2 separate regions of the Homo sapiens genome follow, and region 2 is linked to region 1. Evidence: promoter capture Hi-C in 16 types of primary human blood cells and fetal thymus (Javierre and others, 2016). All regions are on one chromosome and are shown on one strand. Each heading gives the region's core, a stretch centred on a gene start or on the middle of the fragment in contact. The rest is flanking DNA. Distances are from core to core; before and after follow the strand shown. Region 1 holds the start of PKDCC (protein kinase domain containing, cytoplasmic). Region 2 has its middle 42 kb from the start of SLC8A1-AS1.

Region 1 (3,082 bases), core at 191-2,690:
CTTCTGGGAAGGACTGTGTTCCCTTTTTCTAGCCTGCTCCCCAGCCCCCTTCCAGTGTCTTCTGGGTGGCGCTGGAGGTGGGTGGGTGGGGAGACTCTATAGGAATCAAGCCTGACACATGGTCTCTTTCCAGCTCTTCCCAGCCCCACTGCTGTCCCGTCTCATTTTCAAAACCAGACAAATCACTGGAAGTTGGGAGAAGTTCCATCAAGAAGGGGGACTTTATCACACAGTTGGAATTCTGACTCAAGTGTCTTGGCTTAGGGTCATTTTGGCTTGGGGTAATATCCCTGGTGTTCAACCTCCTAACTCCAGCCCGGAGTAGAGTCCTAAATCCTAATGGACTGCCCCACCCCCTGAGTTTTGGGAGCCTCTGTCCTGGCCTGTCTTTAAGAGATGTGTGGAAGCCGAGAAACCCAGGAGTTCTCCGGTAAAGGGACGCCCACCCAGGAGTGAGAAGCAGGGTGGTGCAGTGGGAAGGGCCATGGTCCGGTTTCTGCGTCTAGCTTAGCCTGGGTGCAGTCACTGGCACTCCAGATCAAGGGGTTCTCTTCCAGCCAGGTTGACAAGGTCTTGGGCACTCCCAGCCAACACCGTTACCCCCGCGTCCCCACCCTCGTACCTGCAGCACGTTGGGGTGCCGCAGCCGCTCCAGCAGCACCATCTCCTTAAGCAGCTTGTGGGCCGCCAGCCGATAGCAGCCCCTCCGTACCCCGAACTCGCGCACGCAGCTGCCCAGATCGTGGCCGCTAAAGTCCACCGCCTTGAGCGCCACCGCGGCACCGCCGGGCAGGCGGACCCGGTACACGGCCTTGGTGTAGCCTGAGCCCATGTACTGCGCGCCGGACACGTTGCGAAGCGCGGCGCAGCCCAGGCGCGGGCCCGGGCCGGGGGAGCCTGGGCCGGGAGCCGGGGGCCAGCCTGGGGCGCCGTCGGACAGGGGCCGGGCCCAAGGGGGCCGGGGGCGCGGCAGGCCGGGCCCGCCCGGAGCCAGGTCCATCAGGCGCCGCCGCTCCGGCCGGCCCGCCCCGGGCCCGGGGCCCCCGCGGGAATAGCGCTGCACCTCCTCGTAGCGCGCCCGGATCTGCCGGGCCAGCTCCCCGCGGCCCCCGCGACGGCCCGGACCCGGGGCCGGCGAAGGCTCAGGGGACTGGCCTGGCCTCGGAGGCTCCGAGCCCGGAGCGAAGAGCACGTTGAGGACGGAGCCCAGCAGGAAGGAGGCGCAGAAACCCGCGGCCACTGCCGCCCGCCGGCGCCGCATCGCTCCCCTCCCCCCGGCCGGCCGGCCCCGCGCGGCTCCCCGGCCCCGGCCCCGGGCGGCTCAGGCTCCGAGGCGGCTCCGCTCTGCGCCCCGCCGGCCCCCTGCCCAGCCCGCGCGCATGGCCCCGGCGGCCCCGACCCCGGCCCCTCGCGGGCGACACATCGGCCTGACACTTGCCTCCCTGCCGCCCTGCCCCCGCCGCTTATAAGGCCCAGAGCCGCCCCCCGCCCCCGCCCCCGCCCCCTCCCCCGCCCCCTCCCCCGCCCCTCCGCCTCCACCTCCCAGCTCCCGGCCCGAGCCCGTCCTCGGCGCCGCCCCCTCCGGCCGCCCGGCCCGGCCTTCCCCGCTGACTGACAGCGGGACCTCCTCCCGCGGCCGTCCGGGCCTGGGAAGCGGCGCGGAGGCGGCTCCGGTCCTGCCCAGCCCGCGGTCCCGCCCAGCCCGCGGTCCCCCGAGCTCCGTCTGGGAGCGGGGGAGGGGGCGGCGGCGGCCAGGAGGCGCGCGGGGGCTCCGCGCCCAACGCGAGGGCGGATAACGGGGCCGGGGCGGCCGGATAACGGGATTGGGAGGTGGATAACGGAGCCGGCCGGGCGGAGTGGGGGAAAGATAAAGGGGCGAGGCCGGCGGGTAGCGGGCTCCGGAGGGGACGAGCAGCTAAGTCCGGGGTGCGGAGATCCGAGTGATCTCAGCGCTCCCTCCTGGGACTGGGGGCCTCGGGGCGGTTTGGGCGCAGGGAAGGCGCGTGGACCCCGTCTCTCGCGGGTGGGGCCGGGGGTGGCGGCTCCTCGCTCAGCCCCGGATTCCGGATTGGGGCGATGGTGAGGGGGAAGCGGGCACAGCCGGGCCAGCACCTGCGAGCGCGCGTGGGACAGGAGCTCTAGGCATAGAGGAATGCTCGTGAGCTCGCCGAGGATGCCCTGTTCAACTCCTTTTACCAAAGTGTTTCTGATTTTCCTTGCCTCTAAAGCCCCAAATGCAGCTGGGGGTCGCTCCCTACCCCTCAAGATGCCTGGGGTCTGACGGGGTCAGCCGCGTATAAGAAACCATGTGCATGCTAGTAGCTTGGGCAAAGAGTGCGTTTGTGCCCACGGACGGCTGTCTGTGGAGTGTGTGCCTCGGCGTGTCTGAAGGGGCCATTGTGTCCGATGAAGGGAATGTGTACCTTGTGTGTAAGTTGGTGCTGACGCCACCAGAACTTCGGTCCCTCCTCCTCCCTCCCTGATTGCATCATTAGTGCTAATTGAGGGGCTTTCACACGCCAGTGCACTAGCTGTTTGGAGTGAGCTCCCCCCTCCTGGGAGAGATAAGCCGCTGCCCCTCCCCCTCGCAGCTCTCCTCTTCCCCGCCACTCTGAAACTGCCCACCTAGATCCTCTCACCTTCCTGGGCAGCTTCCTGCCTCCCTCTGGGCCAGGTTAATCTCTGTCCTCCTCACAGTGTCAGGGATTGGCTGGGGAGGGGTCAGGGAGGAGAAGGGTCCACAGCCTTTTTTCTGGGGGTGGGGGTGGGTGGGGGGGTATCCAGGGAGGGGAGATTTTCCCTGAAGAGGTCTGGCGTTCCTACAGAATGCAGTGTCTGTGATGAGAAAGGGACAGGAATTTCTGCCCTGTTCCTTTGGACATGGAAGGACCGAGGAGAGAGCTGAGTCCCTGATCTCCAGCCTATGATCCCACTGAGGTGGGCCTTCCAGCCCGGACTCCTTGTTCTCTATGGCTTGGGGAGTTGGGGCCCAGTCCGACTTGGCAAGCATGGAAAGGCAGGGTGAAGGAAGCCATGATTCCTCCGAGAACACTGGGTCTGGTGGAGTCAGGTCTGTACCGAT
Region 2 (3,082 bases), core at 266-2,765, 2.2 Mb after region 1:
GGAATTAAACCCCATATAGCCAAGACAATCCTAAGCAAAAAGAACAAAGCTGGAGCCATCACGCTACCTGACTTCAAACTATACTACAAGGCCACCGTAACCAAAACAGCATGGTACTGGTACCAAAACAGACATATAGACCAATGAGAATTTATTTTTAAACAAAAGAAAACAGCCCAGTCTCTGTGGCTCACACCTGTAATCCCAACACTATGGGAGACCAAGGTGCCTGGATGACTTGAGGTCAGGGGTTCAAGACCAGCCTGGCCAACATGGAGAAACCCCATCTCTACTAAAAATACAAAAAATTAGCTGGGCATGCTGATGTACCCCTGTAATCCCAGCTACTTGGGAGGCTGAGGCGGGAGAATCACTTGAACCCGGGAGGTGGAGGTGGCAGTGAGCCAAGATTGTGGCACTGCACTCCAGCCTGGGTGACAGAGCAAGATTCCATCTCAAAAAAAAAAAAAAAGAAAGAAAGAAAAAGAAAAAGAAAAGAAAAGAAACAAAACCCAACCAACAAACTACAGCAACTGGTTGGAGATTATTACTCTATGATAATAAGTTAGTGCTTAAAATTTTCTTCCCTGTTTCCTGGTGGAATCTTTCATGTTAGCATCATATAATCCACACAATGCCTCTTTGAAGCAGGTAATAGTCCCATTTTATAGTTAAGGAAGCTGAAGCTAAATATAGTTACTTGACTTATCTAATTATCCAGCTAATAAGTAGCATATCTGCCACTCTAAATCAGGTATCCTGATTAAATCGATTGTTGTTTGCAGTATTTATTCTTAAACTTGGGTAAACATGAGAATCATCTGGAGAAGCTTGTTACAATGTAGATTCCCAGAGGTGGACTCTGTGTTTTTGGTGAGCCCCCAGATGCAGCCAGCCTCAGGACCTACATTCAGGAATGGCTGTGACAGACTTTCTATGACAGCTTCCCAGAGATCTCCAAGCTGACCACACAATCTCAGTGGTCCACAGTCTTATGCACTGATTTGTCTTGACCAAACTTCAGTCAGTCTTCTCTTCTCCCCACAGATCCCTGAACTTTGGCTTCCCTCCAAGCCTGACCTAGCACTAAAATACACAACATCAGTACTTAATAGCCCATCCTGAGAATGGGCCGATGACAGCAGAAACCTGTCAAACCACCATCTTGCTGTCTGTTTACCTCCACCTAATTGCCCAATTTCCCCTACTAAGTTCCTGCTATCCCTGCTTACCCCATCCCACAAATGTCTTTTTCTGTTTGGTTTTGAGATGTCTGTAGATCCTGAGATTAGGGAGCTTACTATTACAATAGCCTCTTTGAATAAAGTTTCTCCTTACCTAAGTCCAGATTTGTTTTTATTTGACAAAGTCCTCAACCACTGACCAAGCTCAAGTTTCACTGAAGCTTCTTCACAGAGGAAGAGATTTGGCAACACCATTTGGGGTTCTTTTTGTGTCTGCAGCAAGCTGGCTGGGGACTTAGCCCATCAACACCCTTGGGATGGCATCACGGGCCAATACGTATTTAACTATAGCTCACCGTGGACCTTTCTGATCTTAGCTTCAGGACTTTATTCCTGGCATTTGGACATCATGTCTGTGGGGACCCTAAGATGAAAAGCTTTCAATGTCTCCAGTTTTTCTCAGAATTCAAAGAAGGTATTATACAAATGTCTGCTGTGAAATATTTCTTTCCCAAGATGCACCAAGCATCCACATGTCCTTAAGAAATGTTTGGCCCAGTTGCCAAGGCACCTCCTGTCAAAGCAATCTTGAAAACTGACATTTTTCTTCCAAGGAGCTACCTCCCTTGGCTTTTGCAACTATCCAAGGTTGAGACATGCACTTTTCATAAACTATGACTAAGCAAAGTCTAAACAGTCCTGGGCTGCCTCCTTAACTCTCCTTCTCCCAGCGGAACACTTGGCCTTTGCTTTGCAGAGCTCTTGCCAAGAAATCACCCAGGCACTTACGATGCAAATTTCATGGGAAGAGAAGAGCACCAAAGAACAAAAATAAAAGAACTTTCCTCTAAATGTAAAATCCCTTCTCAGAGTTAGAAAGCATTAGGCTGTTCCTAGTCTGGTGCTTAAAATGACTTCATTTCATAATTGTTTCTATTAATAATTATACAATAATGCCCTATAATAAAATTCTATGATAATGACAACTTCAAAAAATCCTTATTCTTTTTTTTTAAATTATGACTATCGGCCAGGCTCGGTGGCTCACCCCTGCAGTCCCAGCACTTTGGGAGGCCGAGGCGGGTGAATCATCTGAGGTTAGGAGTTCAAGACCAGCCTGGTCAACATGGTGAAACCCCGTCTCTACTAAAAATACAAAATTTAGCCAGGCATGGTAGCAGATGCCTGTAATCCCAGGTACTCAGGAGGCTGAGGCAGGAGAATCGCTTGAACCCAGGAGGCAGAGGTTGCAGTGAGCCAAGATTGCGCCATCACACTCCAGCCTGGGGACCAAGAGCAAGACTTCGTCTCCAAAAAAAAAAAAATATATATATATATATATATATATATATATATATATATACACATATATATATATACATATATATACACATATATTACTAACATAGAAAAAGATATGCAGTGCTACCAGCACAATTCTGAAGAAACTCTACAACACGGCTTTCTGAGTAGGTAATGGCTTTTTGTCTTTACTATTCCCGTAGGAGGCTCAAAAGGCTAAAAGAGTTGACCAGTTGGTTAACACAAAGCAGCATGTGTTGACAGGAGGAAAAACCCTTGAGTCACAATACCTGGGTTTAAGTCCCAGCTCACCACCATCCAAGGCAATAACGATCTTAGGCAAGTCACTAAACTACTGCAAGCCTCGATTTCTCAATCCATACAAGTAAGCACAAATAACATACAATCCAGCCTACCTCATTTGATTGAGAAGAGGAGGGAACTATTGCTTTGTTTTAAAAAAGCAGAGCAATAGATAAATACAAAGTATCATCATCCTGGCCTTCAAAACATCCCATTATGATTGGTATGTACCCTTCACTGTACATCTCCAAAGAAAAGAAAATAATTCTTATCTTTGTAATATATCCCCAAGT

The links. The method cuts DNA at HindIII sites, captures the fragments that hold promoters and counts their contacts. A CHiCAGO score of 5 or more calls a contact.
Region 2: a fragment that was not itself captured here is called in contact with the fragment with the promoter of PKDCC in region 1 in 1 of 17 cell types (M1 macrophages); the score reaches 5.9 in M1 macrophages.

Annotation. Positions count from the first base shown.
Region 1 is chr2:42,046,379-42,049,460 of GRCh38, reverse strand. It overlaps PKDCC (protein kinase domain containing, cytoplasmic), which reads right to left and starts at 1,440. Exons shown (of 7, transcript NM_138370.3): 1 at 623-1,440. The coding sequence starts at 1,261. RefSeq lists enhancers at 552-811, 2,312-2,431, 2,055-2,559, 2,560-3,063 and silencers at 852-921, 1,052-1,151, 1,162-1,341, 1,492-1,741, 1,852-2,141. The HindIII fragment of the contact is 13,255 bases long and covers 1-3,082 here.
Region 2 is chr2:39,874,130-39,877,211 of GRCh38, reverse strand. No RefSeq gene overlaps it. Among named protein-coding and RNA genes, the nearest start is that of SLC8A1-AS1, 42 kb to the left of the region's middle. The HindIII fragment of the contact is 216 bases long and covers 1,408-1,623 here.